6 separate regions of the Homo sapiens genome follow, and all the other regions are linked to region 3. Evidence: promoter capture Hi-C in human tissues and cell types (Jung and others, 2019). All regions are on one chromosome and are shown on one strand. Each heading gives the region's core, a stretch centred on a gene start or on the middle of the fragment in contact. The rest is flanking DNA. Distances are from core to core; before and after follow the strand shown. Region 1 overlaps PTK2 (protein tyrosine kinase 2). Region 2 overlaps PTK2 (protein tyrosine kinase 2). Region 3 holds the start of GPR20 (G protein-coupled receptor 20). Region 4 overlaps PTK2 (protein tyrosine kinase 2). Region 5 overlaps PTK2 (protein tyrosine kinase 2). Region 6 overlaps AGO2 (argonaute RISC catalytic component 2).

Evidence for each region. The method cuts DNA at HindIII sites, captures the fragments that hold promoters and counts their contacts. A contact is called where the count stands out against the background at its distance.
Region 1: a contact is called between a fragment that was not itself captured here and the fragment with the promoter of GPR20 in region 3, in 1 of the 25 tissues and cell types used here (lymphoblastoid cells).
Region 2: a fragment that was not itself captured here is called in contact with the fragment with the promoter of GPR20 in region 3 in 1 of the 25 tissues and cell types used here (lymphoblastoid cells).
Region 4: a fragment that was not itself captured here is called in contact with the fragment with the promoter of GPR20 in region 3 in 2 of the 25 tissues and cell types used here (IMR-90 fibroblasts and spleen).
Region 5: a contact is called between a fragment that was not itself captured here and the fragment with the promoter of GPR20 in region 3, in 1 of the 25 tissues and cell types used here (dorsolateral prefrontal cortex).
Region 6: a fragment that was not itself captured here is called in contact with the fragment with the promoter of GPR20 in region 3 in 1 of the 25 tissues and cell types used here (spleen).

The regions. Positions count from the first base shown.
Region 1 is chr8:140,661,114-140,663,813 of GRCh38, reverse strand. All of the region lies in intron 35 of PTK2 (protein tyrosine kinase 2), which reads left to right. Among named protein-coding and RNA genes, the nearest start is that of AGO2, 27 kb to the right of the region's middle. The HindIII fragment of the contact is 5,799 bases long and covers 1-2,700 here.
Region 2 is chr8:140,797,438-140,800,137 of GRCh38, reverse strand. The region is part of intron 12 of PTK2 (protein tyrosine kinase 2); the gene reads left to right. Among named protein-coding and RNA genes, the nearest start is that of MIR151A, 66 kb to the right of the region's middle. The HindIII fragment of the contact is 4,961 bases long and covers 1-2,700 here.
Region 3 is chr8:141,365,945-141,368,644 of GRCh38, reverse strand. GPR20 (G protein-coupled receptor 20) reads left to right here and starts at 1,359. Exons shown (of 2, transcript NM_005293.3): 1 at 1,359-1,444. RefSeq lists an enhancer at 47-596. The HindIII fragment of the contact is 55,577 bases long and covers 1-2,700 here.
Region 4 is chr8:140,774,574-140,777,273 of GRCh38, reverse strand. All of the region lies in intron 14 of PTK2 (protein tyrosine kinase 2), which reads left to right. Among named protein-coding and RNA genes, the nearest start is that of MIR151A, 43 kb to the right of the region's middle. The HindIII fragment of the contact is 8,167 bases long and covers 1-2,700 here.
Region 5 is chr8:140,752,650-140,755,349 of GRCh38, reverse strand. The region is part of intron 19 of PTK2 (protein tyrosine kinase 2); the gene reads left to right. Among named protein-coding and RNA genes, the nearest start is that of MIR151A, 21 kb to the right of the region's middle. The HindIII fragment of the contact is 3,965 bases long and covers 1-2,700 here.
Region 6 is chr8:140,629,236-140,631,935 of GRCh38, reverse strand. All of the region lies in intron 1 of AGO2 (argonaute RISC catalytic component 2), which reads left to right. Among named protein-coding and RNA genes, the nearest start is that of ERICD, 3.6 kb to the left of the region's middle. RefSeq lists an enhancer at 898-1,398. The HindIII fragment of the contact is 7,062 bases long and covers 1-2,700 here.

The DNA.
Region 1 (2,700 bases), core at 185-2,684, 700 kb after region 3:
GTGCAGTAGCTACTCAGGAGGCTGAAGCAGGATGATCGCTTGAGCCCAGGAGTTTCAGGCTACAGTGAGCTAGGATCAAGCCACCATACTCCATCCTGGGTGACAGAGCAAACCCTGTTTCAAAAAAAAAAGTTTTAAGGAATAAAAGTTGACCCAAAATACTGTAGCCCAGCAACAACTATCATTTTTGCTACCTTTTGGCAATTTTGTTTCAATTATATGACTAACAAATGAAAGGAAGCACCTGCATTTGTTTTAGTGTCTTTGAGCCTAGGGTGTACATTCTGTGGTTGGGATTGACAAACGCATGTGGGATGCGTCCCCACTACAGAGTCCAGGATCTGCAGGCTTCAGCCTTGCTCCCTGCTGACTCCAGCTGCCTGCTTTTCTCATTTCTAGGGAAGCATGGGCAGTTCTTCATCCCAGCACACACTTTTTGTTTGTCCTTTTTATTTTGAAATCATTTCAGATTTATATGAAAGTTAAAAGATTAATAGAGAGAACTCCCAACTTTCCTTTGAGTTTCACAGCCTTTTAACATGTCAGCACATTGTCACCTTGCTCCATTGTCTATGTGTGTACACACATCACTTCCTGCTGTCGAGCAGCTTGAGAATGGCTGTGTATCTCATGCCCTCTTCCCCTTTAAGATTTCCATTTATATTTCTCATAACAAGGCCATTGTCCTACATAACCACCACACAATCACCACATTCTGGAACTTTAACATGATGTAATGCACTGTCCCACTCTGCAGGGCACGTTCCAGGGTCGTCGGTTGTCTCTGTAGCACTTTTCCGTCGCCTGTGAGAGCCAGACCAGGATTACACTTTGCACGTGGTGTTGCTTTCTTCAGCCTCCTTTCATCTGAAACAGCTCCTCAGCCTTTTTTTATCTTTCATGACATTGACATTTTTGACAAACATAGGCTCAGTGATTTTATAGAGTATTCTTAAAGTTGGATTGAGGGATATCCTATAAACATTTGTTTCTTCCTGATGAGATTGAGATTTTGCATCTCCAGTCAGGAATACAACATAAATAATGCTGAATCCTTCTCAGCATCATACCCAGAGACATACGATGTCCAGGGGATGTTCCAGTTGACCAACTGGACATTGACTTCTGAAGGACGGTTGGACACAACTCCTGTTGGTGATTCCTTTGTAAGTGGCATTGATTCATATGCATAAACCCTTTAACTTGTTTTTGAGAAGGCCTGTGACTGGTGCTGTAGTGTAACTTCACATCCCAACCAAATGGGGTTCTCTCACTTACCTGCTTCACCGGGCCTCTGGCTTTCCATGACAAGCCTCAGTTTTGCCCCAAAGTGGAGAAGTTCCATATGCTAGAGGCAAGAAAATGGTGTCCTACCAAGTGGATATTTTAGTGGGACTATTTGTCAACACCTACTCTAGTTGATAAAGTCTAAAGTAATCTTTTCATCTCCCCTGATTCCAATACACAAATTGCTCTCCTGTATACAGTATTTTTTAATTATTAATTTTTTTTTTTTTGAGACAGGGTCTGTCTCTGTCACCCAGGCTGGAATGCAGTGACTCCATCACAGCTCACTATAACCTCCAACTCCTGAGCTCAAGTGATCTTCCTGCCTCCGCCTCCCAAGTAGCTGGGATTACAGTTGTATACCACCACGCCCAGCTAATTCTTTATTTTTTTGTAGAGACAGTGTCTTACTGTGTTGCCCAAGCTGGTCTCAAATTCCTGCTTCAAGCCATCCTCCTACCTCGGTCTCCCAAAGTGCTGGGGTTACAGGCGTGAGCCACCACACCTGGCCTTAAATCATTTTTGAAAAGAAGAGGAGCCTGTCTTTGATCCTGCATCTGCCTTTCACTGTCCTCATGCCTCCTCCTGTCCCCATTGTACTTCCTGAAAGAGCAGCCCATCCCTGATGGGGCCACCTCCTCACATGGCAGCTGCACTCAGCGCCAGCTCAGAGCATTCCAGTGCTCCAGCTGTTTGGAACTCTCTCTGCTGTAACAGCCCTTCAAGGTCTCCTAATTGCCAGAGCCCCTGCTTTCCCCTCAGTCCTAACTCCCCCTTGAGACCCCCTGCTCTGGCCCAGAGCTTCCTCACTCACTCCTCTCCTGCCAAGACCTCTGCTCAGGCTTTTGTTCCCTGCCACCCTTGAGTGTGGTCATCTCCCAAAGTGCTACCCACTTGTTTTATTAAAAAATACTTTTTCACTCTGGTAGTTCTTCTCATTCTCATAGATTCAAGTATTTGATGCCTCCCAAATCTGTGTTGATTTTATAGAACCCCGCCCTGAGCTCTGATCTCCAACTGTCTGCCATTGGCAAGAACGGTCTGCTTTCCTTGTTTGCTTCCACAGTCAGTGACAACACCATGCACTTGCATGTCTGTTCCCAATCCCCTACACACATGCAAACAACCACACACCTTCCATCTCTCATCAGGTCTCAGGTTGGTCCGTTCACCTGCACATCCACCATCACCTCTCCTCTGAAGATGGCCTCTTAGATGGTTTATCTGCCTCTTGTCTGTTCCCCTGCCCTTCCATTCAGCCTCCACATTGCCGCCAAGAGCCATCTTTCTAGAATATCTCTCTAGATTTTGTCATTCTCCTTCTTAAAAATCTCTTATCCCTCTTGCCAAGTCCTGCCAAATAAAGATCAACTAGGTGTGGCTTTCACAGTTGAAGCCAGCCTACTTTTACAG
Region 2 (2,700 bases), core at 163-2,662, 570 kb after region 3:
TCTGGGTTTAAAAAAAGGAATCCGTTATAACTCACTATAAATAAAGTGTCCTTTCTACTTTTTCTTATATATCTCAAAAGCTTAGAGCATTCAAAGAAGAAAGTACAGTCTAAGTCATGATGTTAAAAAATCAAAGATTAGAATGAATAAATATCCTAGAAACGTCACTATAAAAGCGGTGTGGAGTTTTTGCAAGCATATAATGAGGAATGCTTTTGAGGATTTGGATTTCTGAAAGAATCAAATGAAAATATTCCCAGCAGGATAATAGCATACATAGTGTGAAGCAGGGAAAGACTGAGTTTGGGAATTATGGGACTTAAGTTCAAATCATGAGTCCTCTGTGACACCATCTATAAATTACTTTTCTGAGCCTCAGTTCTGTCATCTGGTCAAACACGAAGAACAGTAACTGTCTTCTATGGTATTAGGAGGATAAAGGACTTATTTATAGGCTTGGAACTATGCCTGGCACACTTGATGCTCCTAGATTTTAGTTGTATTGTTGTTCCTGTTGTTGCTACTAGTTGAGTCTGATCTTGACACTGTATCAGCCTAGACTTTGAGATACCTCATCTGTAAAAGAATGATACCTATTTTGTAGGGTTGTTAGACACCTCCCAAGGAGTAACTGTAAAGCAGCTCACGCTGTGGAAGTGGGGACTCTGAATGTGGGTTTTGCCAATACCCCTTCTAGCACTCACCTCAGTGACTAGGATGATTATAGAGGAAAAAAAGTCCTGAAGTGCTGTGTGGAGTGCATTCAAGTCAGCAGAATTGTATTAAACAGCGATGAGGATAGAGAAAAGGCCAAAGGTCAAGTGAAGCAGATAGAAACGCAGAGGATCCAGCCTTGCCCAGCAGGGAAGTGCTCTGTTTACAAAGCAGTTTGAGGAAGGCATGGTGTTTGCATGGGAGGTACATGTGAGTGTTGTGTGTTTTATAGAGAGGAGTCATTGGACCCTTTATTTATGTATCTCAAAAGAGGTAACTGATGGTGCTGTGCCCTGAAAACAGCAGCTGAAGCCATGAGCCTTCGCTAAGTAAACATAAATCTGTGTGATTCCAGGACATGGCTTTTCTAAAGGAAAAGTGTTTTCCCACGGTGATCACACCAATAAGCCTATTCATATATTTTTCCTAAGTTTTCTTTGTATAAAATAGAGTAATGAAGTTGCTTTCAGAAATCTCTACAGTTACTCTCAGTTAAAGCCTTTGCAGCTATAGGTCTTGATTTTTCACTTTGTGCTTTATTTTTTATTTTTATTTTTGACGTTTTCTTCTTCCAGTGTCGCACTTTATACTTTAAACAGGAGTATATGCCTTACAAATATTATTTAAATGTTTTCAGATAATTTCTTTACATAAAGATAGTAATTTAGGAAAAATGTTAAATGTAATAGATTGCCCATTTCCTTTTTAGTGAATAATTTTTCATCTTTTATCTTCAGTTTACCAAAAGGTCCTTGACATACACATTTAAAAATAACATTCGGATGTCAGGCATTAAATGAGCCTTCCATGTTTAAAACGTAAACATCTTCCTGTGTTGATTTCACTATTAGCTAGCGTTTTTTGCTCTCTAGGGAGAAACATTTGGATATCAAACATGAAATGCGATGCTTTTTAAGCTCTTTGTTCATATGAAAAGAGCATTAATGAAAATGCTTGTCATGAAAAGCTAGATAGGGCATTGGTTGTTTCCAATTTTATATTGTCTTTATAAAATGAATTATTAAACTTGGTAATTTTCTTATTCTCAATCATAGCATGTTTATGTATTATATAACTATTTCATCATAGATCCCTAAGGTGAAGATACATTGCCTAGTTAAAATAATATTAAAGTCAAACATCTTTAGTGGATTATAGTCAAAAATACATGTGAACACAGCACATGTACATTTTTTAATTGAGATTTTTTAAGAGTTCAAATGTTAAACATGTTTCTGCAACTCTAATGTACCGTTTTCCTGGAAACATGCTTTAAATAATAATTATATATGCCCATCTGTCTTCTCTAGATCATAAACTACTTATACATGTATACATGTATATGCATAACATAGCATGACAGTAATAAGTGATCAGTACATTCTACATGTGAATTGGGTGTGCCCAGATGCATTTTGTTAGTTCTTTGATCTACCATAGTTACTTTGGATTTATAAAGTGCTTTTAAAAGGGATGTTACCTTGTCATAGTGGCTCATGTCTGTAATTCCAGCTACACAGGAGAATCCCTGAGGCCAGGAATCTGAGACCATCCTGGGCCACATAGCAAGACTGTATCTAAAAAAAATAAATTAATTTTAAAAAATAAAAATAAAAGGTGATTTTCCTGGGGAGAACATAGTAAGAGCCACAAGCCAAATTGTCCTGGACTGCATTCCACCACAGTCTGCATAACCTTGGCCCTTTCTGTAGGGCATTATCTAACCTACACCTTACCTGAAAGAAAGTATACAATCAATTTTGCAGTGTTAGTAAAATTCTGTAGTAACATTTTTTCAGAGGAAAGTGTATAGTGTAATATAGAGTTGTAATTACATAATTGTAAGTAGGTTTTCTGTGTATAGAATGATGGTGAATACTGTGCATTTCAAGGGAGGGAGTGAATGCTTCTAAGCATGGCATAAATTCCAGAAGACATAAAAATAGAACTGTTACATTTAATTACATAATTAAAACACTTATGTGC
Region 3 (2,700 bases), core at 110-2,609:
AGACGGCATCCCTCCCCAGCAGGCTGGGTCAGGACCCTAGGGCCCACCTACTCTCTCCTGTTGGTCTGCATTACAACCAGCCTGAGCTCGGGAAGGCCCAGCCCCTCCCTTGGGGAGCCTTCCCTGAGTCTCCGGTGTGCAGTACAACCCACTCAGCAGGGCCTCGGCACTCAGGCGGCTGGAAGGTTAAAGTGTGAGTATCAGCAGAAGCACACGGGATGGGAACAAGAGGAGATGGTGCTCTCGGCAGAGGAGACACTAACTAAATGGCCCCAACCGCTCCCCGACAACCCCCGCTGCCACCCCAGGCTGGCCACAAGGCCTCCTGGCTCTGAAGCTGTCTGGGGAGAGTGGCCCTCCAGCAGCCCTCTGGGATCAAGCCTGTTGATGAGCTCACGCTTCCTCCAGCACTGAGGTCCGGGTCCCACACGCTCTCCCCACCTGCTGGCCTGGGTCACGTCCAGGTCTTTCCCACACACCTGACCCCACATGCCACATGCCACCGGTGCATGGGTGCAAACAGAGGCCCAGATGCCAGGTGTGCAGGCTGTCGGTCATGGGTACACACAGACACAGCCAAACCCAGGACACATGCAAAACAGAGAGCCATGCAGGAACCCAGGCTTGCGTGGGCTGAAGCTACCATGCACATGCCCCCTCCCGGGAAGGAAATTGGGCTTTCGTGTGCTCCCACCTCCTGTCCCGCACACAGCACGCACAAGTGCCAGCCACCATCTCCTGGATGGTGCAGCTGAGACTCAGCCCCTCCGTGCCTCAGTTTCCCCCTCCTGCCCCCCACACAGCACACACAAGTGCCAGCCACCGTCTCCTGGATGGTGCAGCTGAGACTCAGCCCCTCTGTGCCTCAGTTTTCCCCTCCTGCCCCGCACACAGCACGCACAAGTGCCAGCCACCATCTCCTGGATGGTGCAGCTGAGACTCAGCCCCTCCGTGCCTCAGTTTCCCCCTCCTGCCCCGCACACAGCACACACAAGTGCCAGCCACTGTCTCCTGGATGGTGCAGCTGAGGCTTAGCCCCTCCGTGCCTCAGTTTCCCACCTCCTGCCCTGCACACGGCACACACAAGTGCCAGCCACCACCTCCTGGATGGTGCAGCTGAGGCTCAGCTCCTCGGTGCCTCAGTTTCCCCCTCTGTCTCCAGTGGGTGTGGGGACTCTGGTGCCCCAGGCCCCTCTGTGCCTCGGTTTCTTCTTCTGTCTCCAGTGGGTGTGGGGACTCTGGTGCCCCAGGCACCGTCCCTCAGGCTCTGAGCCTTGACTCCTCCTGGGGGCGGGGAAGGAGCCTGCCCCGCCCCCACCCTGCCTTTGCCCAAAAGGAGCCCCAAGCGCTGGCCTGACGTCAGGCCGTAGGAAGGCGAGGTCCGGGCTGCATGCAGAGCTGAGAGCTGAGGACTCCCATCTCCAGCCTGCCCGGGTGAAGCGCGGTAAGTTCCCCTGTGGGCTGGCCCCAGCCTCCCTCTCCCCAGCTTCCCTAGATAGGAGGCTCCTGAGCTGCTCCCTGCAGGGGTTCTCACCCCCAGCCAAGCAGGAGTGGGAAGGGCAGGGCAGAGAAACTGCCTCCAGATCCGGGCTGGGGAGAGCTCAGAGCAGGTCCTGCTGGACAGGGAGCCATTTCTCAGATGAGAAAACAGAGACCTGAGGGAGAACATGGGCGTGAGTTGGGCTGGCTGCATAAGGGGGAGCTGCGCTGCTAGGTGCCCACCCAACTCTGGATTTCATTCATTCACTCATTCATCCCTCCGTTCAACACTCACCGAGCATCTGCTGGGTGCCCAGAGCTGGGTCTTGGTTTCCCCACCTGGCAAGGCAGCAGGGTGGCCCACAGGCCAAGCCAGGGACAGAGTTGGGGGACCCCAGAGGCACTTGGCAGGCTCTGGGGCCTCAGCCACCACCACCCCGCAGCTGGGGCAGGGCCATGGTGAGGGCTTTGTGGGCATGGGCTCCAAGCGCCATGCTCCCTCTTCAGAGTGCCCGTCCTGCCATCCCACAGCTCAGGCCCTCTGCAGTAGCCTTGGTGCTGTCTCTACCCCTTAGGGGTGGGGAAACTGAGTCCCAGGGAAGGCTTGCTTGCCAGCCCTCAGTGTGGACCTAGAAGCTGGCTCCAGCCCCGCGAAGCTCGCACTGGGACTGCGCTGTGAGAAGGCGGCAGGACAGGGTCCCGAGGGGGCAGCGGGCTGGGAACTGGCCAGCAGCCAGGGTGCTGGCGGGGCAGACGTGGAGCAGCTGGCGACCTCGCAGGACGGGGAATGCACCCCGCAGGAGGCTGGGCCTGTCCACTTGCCCTGTCTTCTTCCTTCAACAGCTGGTCATCCTGGGTCTTCCCTCCCCTCTCCCCCCAGGACTCATCCAGTCGCTGGGCTCCAGGGCGGTCTGCTGAGTGGCCGTGGCAAGTCGCTGCCCCTCTCTGAGCCACACGGTGTGGGCCCATCAGCAAAGGCGGGGTCTGCGGCTGGAGAGCCGGGCGTGGGGGCCATGCAGTTTGGACCATTTCTGAGCAGCTCCTGGAGCCCACGGGGTGGCTTCATTGTCTTCTTGTTAAGTGGTATTAGCATCTCCTCTTTATAGATGAGGAAACTGAGGCTCAAGGAGATCAGAGGGGTATTCTAAAATCATCCACTCCATCACTCAGCAGTGACTCAGTGACTCAGAGGGGCCAGCCAAGGCCAGGGCCCCTGAGGCA
Region 4 (2,700 bases), core at 116-2,615, 590 kb after region 3:
TCCCCAGAAGCCAAAAAGATGTCAGCACCATGCTTTCCATGAAGCTGGCAGAACTGTGAACCAATTAAAACGTCTTTTCTTTATAAATTACCCAGTCTCCGGTATTTCTTGATAGCAATACAATAATGGCCTAATACAGCAAACAAGGCAGGTTAAGTTTGGCAGGCTTAATCAGGTTAGCTCTGGTTTCATTAGCACATCACCCACTGTGGTTTCCCCGCCTTAGTAGCCCCCTTCTGACATCACTGGTCCGCTTATGATAGAAGAACTCTTTATGTGAGTTATTGCGATTCAGTGTTGCTCCTTATTGAAATTGCCCTGCTTTTGCTTCCAGAATACCATATTCTTCCTACTTCACTCATTATTCAGCACTTCGCGCCTGAGGATCCCAGGACTCAGTTCTTCTGACACTTTGTGTCAGCCACAGTCACACCCTTGGGGATCTCATTGTGTTTCATGACTTAATTATGCTGCTGACTCTCAGATTGTTATCTTAGTTTTTCAGACTTCTTTCTTGAACTCCAGACCCGTGGCCACTATGTTCTCGCCATGTGGAATCTGATGTCTCATAAGCATTTCAGACTTAATATACTCAAAAGGAACTGATATTCACGCCAAGCCTGCTTCTCTCCCCTTCTCCACTCACTAAATGGCACTACTTTCCTTCTGGCTGGTCAGATTATCCTTGGGGTTATTTTTGATGCTATTCTTTGTTTTCTTCTCCCATATCCAATCTATTAACAAATCCAAATTGCTCCTGCAAATAAACTCTGTACTTATATTAATTTTGCCTAAGTTTTTTCCTTTAGGGTTTACACTGGGAATATATTTAGAAGACCAAGTCATAGATTGAAGTTGTCCTATATAGGTACTCTGATTAGCAGCAATTACAAGTGGATTTGTAAAGGAAAAAAGAACAGACAGTTCTTAAATTGTTTACCAAAAATTGGCATTAAAATAATGTAACTATTGGCCAGGTATGGTGGCTCACACCTTTAATGCCAGCTCTTTGAGAGGCCGAGGCGGGCGGATCACCTGAGGTCAGAAATTCCAGACCAGCCTGGCCAACATGGTGAAACCTGTCTCTATTAAAAATATAAAAATTAACCAGGTGTGGTGGCGGATGCCTGTAATCCCAGCCACTGGGGAGGCTTAGGCACGAGAATCACTTGAACCTGGGAGCCGGAGGTTATAGTAAGCAAGATCACGCCACTGCACTCCAGCCTGGATGGACACAGCAAGACTCTCTCAATGAGAATAATAATAATAATAAACTATTGATTGTCCATTGTTCTTTATATCACAGATTCCAGGAATGTGAAGATAATATTTTAGTGGTTTAGGTGCAGGGGCGAAGATACCCTTAAAAATGGTAATTTCCTTTATAGGTGTAAATTTCTCTGACAGAGGATTTCAAAATAAGCAGCTAAATGTCAGAAAGTTGTATTTTGGAGACTGATTTATTTTGATAGGTGTCCTTTTCAACTTAGCTTGTTTTTTAATTAGATTACTGACTTCAAGTTGGAGCCCTTTAATGAACTGGGCAAATAAAGCATTTGCAGTTTTCAGGGCCTAGTATTTAAATATTTGAAAAGCAGGCATAGCTGGAAGGCCCAGCATAAAAATCAAGGGCCTGGTATGGTGGCTCACACCTATAGTCCCAGCACTTCAGGGAGGCCGAGGCAGGCAGATTTCTTGAGCCCAGGAGTTAGAGACCAGCATGGGCAACATAGCAAAACCCCGTCTTAAAAAAAATCAAGGACCCCACTTTTTGTTTTTGTTTTTTTTTAAGGCAGGGTCTCACTCCGTTGTCCAGACTGGAGTGCAGTGGCGTGATCTTGGCTCACTGCAACCTCCATCTCCCGGGCTCAAACAGTTCTCACACCTCACCCTCCCAAGTAGCTATGACTACAAGCACACACCACCACGCCTGACTAGCTTTTGTATTTTTGTAAAGAGAGTATTTTGCCATGTTTCCCAGGCTGGTCTCCCAACTCCAGAGCTCAGGTGATCTGCCCACCTCTGCCTCCCCTAGTGCTGGGATTACAGGCATGAGCCACCATGCCTGGTTCCCACTTTTACATTGAATCCTGGTTCCCCCGAAAGAGGGAAATACCATGGTGTTACCTGAAAGGAGTTCTGATCCAGACCCCAAGAGAGGGTTCTTGGATCTGGCTGAAGAAAGAAGTTGAGGCAAATCCATAGGGTAAAATGAAAGCAAAGGAATAAAAGAATGGCTACTCCATAGGCAGAGCAGCAGTGTGGGCTGCTGGACTAAGGATACTTACAGTTATTTCTTGATTATATTCTAAACAAGGGGTGGATTATTAGTGAGTTTTCTGGGAAAGAGGTGGGCAATTCCCAGAACTGAGGGTTCCTCCCCTTTTTAGACCATACAGAGTAACTTCCTGACCTTGCCATGGCATTTGTAAACTGTCCTGGCATTGGTGGGAGTGTCTTTTAGCATGCTAATGCATTATAATTAGCATATAGTAAGCAGTGAAGATGACTGGAGGTCACTTTTGTCACCATCTTGGTTTTGGTGGGTTTTGGCCAGCATCTTTACCACAAGCTGTTTTATCAGCAAGGTCTTTATTATGACTTGTATCTTCTATCAACCTCCTGTCTCATCCTGTGACTTAGAATTCCTGACCTCTTGGGAACGCAGCCCAGTAGGTCTCAGTCTTATTTTACCGAGCC
Region 5 (2,700 bases), core at 62-2,561, 610 kb after region 3:
GGGGCCATGTGAACCTTGAGGTAAGAATTTTGACCTTCATTCTGAGAGTCAGTAAACATGAAGTTTATCTGATTGGCACACATTTTTTTCTTTATTAGGCAAGATTATCAGGCTTGTTTTTTCTTTCCTTCAAGCACCTGCTGATCACTGGCACATTCTCTCATTATTATTCGCAGCCTTAAAATCCGTTATTAAATCTAATTTTCTCTTAATTCATCCTAGAATAGCTTTTTTCTACATTTATTTGTTAAGATATTTTAAACGTCTACTAGCTGTTATTAATTCAGAGCCTAATCTTGCATCCCTTGTCTAGGCATAGTGGCCACAAGGTGGTATTTTCATTGAACAATGAAAAACTTCTCTTTTCCCTAAATATTGCCTGTATTTTACGAAGATTTTAAAAATCTATTTTGAGTAATTACCAATTAGTAACTTTTTAGTTTTTAGAAAAAACCCTTTGCACACGTTCTGGTCTTACTTACTTTGAACTGACCCATTCTCCAGCAGTCCGATCTCTGTAACTGGCCCTTCTAACAGTTCAGCATTCCCTAGACCTCTGCTGTCCACTTTAGGGGCCACTAGCCGCATGTCCTATTCGCCAAACCGAAGGCTGAGCCTCATAATCTGCTCATGTTGGCATTTTGTATATTTGCCAGCTATGGAATCTTACACTTAGCATTCATTTGAAACCCTAGGTCTTTAAAGAGCAGTATTTTGTTTGCATTTCCTTAGACTGTCTTAATAAAGCACCATGTTTACTGAGTATTTGATTAGTTGACAGGATTAATGATGGTTTTAAGGTCTTATCAAAGATTTTGTTGCTCTGATCGTCTATAAAATGGACATTTTCGGTCAGTTTTACAGTATACCAGCCATACAGTTTTCTCGTATACCTGTTACTTGCAGCCAGCCTCATATTTAGCTAGAAAAAGAATTCATGGTCATGGTCCTAAAGAAGTACACAGTCTAATTAAGGAAGACAAGACTGACTCATTCAAAGCAAAGTGGTTATATTTTAGCACAGATACGGTTAATGATTCTAAGGTTGTAAACTCAAACATTTAGTAGATAGGGTATTCTGTGCTCTTGTTCACATTCTGTGTGAGCCAACTACTCTGTCCTCCAAGGACCACGTCACCATTACCACCTGAACCCCTTCCTTGAGGCATCTGGCACATGGGCATGCCTCCTCTGGAGGTGAAGAAAGGGAATGCAGTCCCTGAGTCGATGATACAGTTCTCTTACCATTCAGATTTCTCTTGTTTGAAAATGTTTTATTTCCTGGAAACACATAGTATACAACTAGTGTGAAGTCTAAAATAAATAAAGGTATTTAAGGTATTTTGAAAGTATGCGACAGCTAACTTGTTAAGCAAAACACAATTTAAGGTATTTTTAAAATATGACACATCTAACTTATTAATGAACATCTTCATTTAAAAGAAATATATTAATAGCATTAATTAATTCTGCAGATCTTTACTGAGCATATAGTATGCATCAGTGCTATACTAATGGGGATTTTTTGACAAAACAGGCAAGTTACTTGCTGTCTTGAAACTTACATTTTAGTGATGGAGAATAGACAGTAGTTATGTAAATGACAATATTATCTCTGTGTTATGTATAATTATAATATATAAAATGATATAATGTGAAAGACAATAGTAAGTGTGCATAATGACTTTTTGGCTTTCAGAGCAACACATTTTCTTGGTTTGTCTCCTGCCTTCCTGGTCACCCCTTCTCAGTCTCCTTTGACATTTTCCACTCTTGTCCCTGACCTCTTCATGTTGGAGAGCTTCAAAGCACAGTCCTTGGACCTCTCTCATCTCCCTTGGTGATTTCGTCCAGTCACATGGGCTAGGCTACTTCTGGATTTCTATGTCCAGTTCAGATTTCTTTCTTGAACGCCAGTCACAGTATCCTGCTGGTCACTTCACCTGTGTGACTTGGCTATCTTACTGACATCTCAAGCTTATTACATCCCAGGCCGAGCTTCTGATCTTCCCCTTCCATCTTGTCAGTTTTTCTGGTCAAAAACCTGAACTTGACTCTCTCACACCTGCATCATGAGCCACCTTTGCCCTAGCTTCAGAGTATAACCAGAATCTCAGCCCTTCTCTCCACCTCCACTGCTACCATGTTTGTCCAAGCCACCATCACCTGTCACCTGTCACCTGGGGTACTGTGGTAGCCACCCGCAGAACTCCCTGTGTCTCTAACCTTGCCTCTCTGCAGCCATTTCTCAGTACCACAGCAGAATGCTCCTTCAAAATTTTGGGTCAGGCCATGGTACTCCAATGTCCAAACCCTACCTTGGCTCTCCATTTCACTTGAGTAAAAGTCGCATCTTTCTATTGGCCTTGAAGGCCCTGTGTGGTCTGGCCCCTCCGTTCCTCTCTGACTCTGTCATCTTCACCCTCCTACCTTCCACCCTCTGTGCCAGCCTCACTGGCTTGCTCATGTTCCTTGAGCACGCTATACACTGTTCCCTGCTGTTTCTTAGCCAGCTCCCTCTCCTCCCTCCTTTAGTTTTTTTGCTCTTGTCTCATCTGCTCAGTGAGGTCCCCCTCATACAGCAGCCTCCATCCCTGTCTCCATATCCTGATCTGCTCTCTCCCTTTTCTGTAACACGGTTACCTTCTAACATACTATGTAATTAATTCTTTATTTATTATCTGTGTTCCTCACTGGAGT
Region 6 (2,700 bases), core at 167-2,666, 740 kb after region 3:
CTCATTTAATACCCCTCCATTTATCCATTAGGAAGCTTTAGCAGTCATCAGGGTTCTCCACATTTGCTTCAAATATGCCCCTTTTCTTTGTGGACGTTTTCCAAAGTGAATTGCAGACCTGTCATTTTACCTCGATATTTAAATATGCGTGTCTAAAGCAATGGAGACGTTTTGAACATACCCCAGTGCCGTTATGACAGTTAACAGTCTGTGATCAATTTCTCTCATATTCTCAGAAGTGTGTTTCCAGTTGGGTGCTTTGGATCCTGAATTTTAACCAAAGTTCACACACACATTTGGGTCTCTGCCTTCCGCCTCTAAAGCTAGCCCACCCTCTCTCTTCTCCCTGCATTTGACTTGTTATATTTACGTCTTCTTTTTTTTCTTTTTTTTTTTTTTGAGACGGAGTCTCGCTCTGTCACCCAGGCTGAAGTGCAGTGGTACCATCTTGGCTCACTGCAACCTCCTCCTCCTCCCGGGTTCAAGCGATTCTCCTGCCTCAGCCTCCTGAGGAGCTGGGACTAAGCCACCATGTCCGGCTAATTTTCGTATTTTTGGTAGAGATGGGGTTTCACCATGTTGGCCAAGCTGGTCTCAAACTCCCAACCTCAGGTGATCTACCTGCCTCGGCCTCCCAAAGTGCTGGGATTATAGGCGTGAGCCACCACGCCCGGCCTACGTCTTTTAAAATCTCTTTTCTTCAGAGCATTCGTGCCTCCCCTCCCCCTCCGTTTTTTCTTTAATGGTTTTAGAAAGAGCCCCATTGCTCAAAATTTTTGTTTTTTGGGCTCCGTTTTGTTGAGGGGGGCTGTTTGGAGACCCAGTTGCTCATGGTTTTAATTCTGACACATTTAAGTGGTGTTTTGTTTTGTTTGTTTCTGAGGGTTGGGGTTGTTCTCTGTTGCCCAAGCTGGAGTGCAGTTACACAGTCATGGCTCACTGCGGCCTCAAACTCCTGGGCACAAGCCGCCCTCCCACCTCAGCCTCCCTAGTAGCTGAGACTGCAGACATGTGCCACCATGCCCAGCGAAGGTGTTTTACTTTTTTAGAGATGGAGTCCTGACATGTTGCCCAGGCTGTTACGCAGAGTGTTGGGGCAGGTCCCTTTGCATCTTGAGTTTTCAGTTGCAGCAGAATCCTTTTTGTGGTCCTCTTTCAGCAGAAGCGACACTGTATGACCTATGGCAAATACGGAAGATAACTGGAGGCTCTTGTGCAGTTTATCTCTTACAGTTATTTCAAATAAGAGGGATTCTTTTCTCCCCAGTGTTGGGTTGGGAATGGCTCCCTCTTTCACATATCTCTGCCCTTATCGTTTGTGGCCAGCTCTGTGCTGCCTGTGGTTGCTCTCTCCTCCTCACTGGGGATCTGCTGGCCCACGCCACACATTGAGAGCCCCAAGCCTGCTGCTGCGGTCAGGGGCCTGCACTTGTTCGCTGTAGCCACTATTCTAATTTTTTCCTCCAAAAGTTTAGGAACTTGAAACCACTCTTTGTTCTTGGTCCTTTACACGTTGTGACCAAATCGCCAGGCCCTCCCAGTTTCTGTCTCCATAGAGCTGCACCCAGGGTGAGGAGACACTTAGCATTTGTGCTGGGAGCTTCCTCCAGGGCAGTGGGCACCTGTAAGCTTTCCCTGGTACGAAAGGCAGACACAAGAACTGTCCGTGCAAAGCAGGGTGGACGGGCGGCCTCTCAGATTCAATGCGTTTTTAAAATCTGGGGCTTGTGTGTAGCTTAAAGATGAACAGGCTGGAACATTTTAAACTTGGTTCACCCCTGATGGCACTGCACTTCCTGAAATCCTCAGAAAATCTGATGGGCGTGAGTGTGGTGTCATTGAGGTTGCCAGTAGTTCTTTCCAAAGGGTGCTGACGCGTGTCCCCGTTGTGAGCTGGGAGAAGCAGGGTGTGGGAGGTGGGCCAGGCCTCCCTGGGTCTGCCAGGAACCGGGCTGTGTGGGTTGGATCAGGAACTGGAAGCCCCACCTCTCTCCTCTCCTCTCCCCTCCGCTCCCCTCCCCTCGCCTCCGCTCCCCTCCCCTCCCCTCCTCTTCCCCCTGCTCCCCTCCCCTCCCCTCTCCTCTTTTCTTTTCTTTTTTTGACAGGGTCTCACTCTCATGGCCCAGGCTGGAGTGCAGTGGCACAGTCATGGCTCACTGCAGCCTCAACCTCCCCGGGCTCCGGAGCTCCACCTCAGCCCTTTTGGGCAGCCTCCCAGGTAGACTGCAGCTGTGGACCACCGTGCCTAGCTAAGTTTGTGGAGAGACGGGGTTTCCCTGTGTTGCCCGGGCTGTTCTGGAGCTCCTGGATTCAAGTGACCCACCTGCCGCAGCCTCCCAAAGTGCTGGGGTTACAAGTGTGAGCCACTGCGCCCGGCCCCCTCCTTTTTCATCTTCTCACTGTCATCGAGATGGACAGACAGGAGTCTGGTCAGAACTGCAGCCCCGTCCGCATCTCCTCGTGTGGTCTCAGTTTTCTCGCCTGTTAAGTGGGGACTTTGGCCTGGATGACTAGCATCCTCTCCAACCTTACTTCCCCCATACAGTGACTTTTCTGCCTTCCCACCTGGCCCCGGGCACGGGCGCCTGCGCTGAAGGGAAGCAGCACATTCCCCACGAATCCTTAGTCTTCATACAGTGACCCAGGACAGAAGAGAAGGTGCTGGAGGCCTGCAGTGACAGCCGGAGCCGAGGTCACACA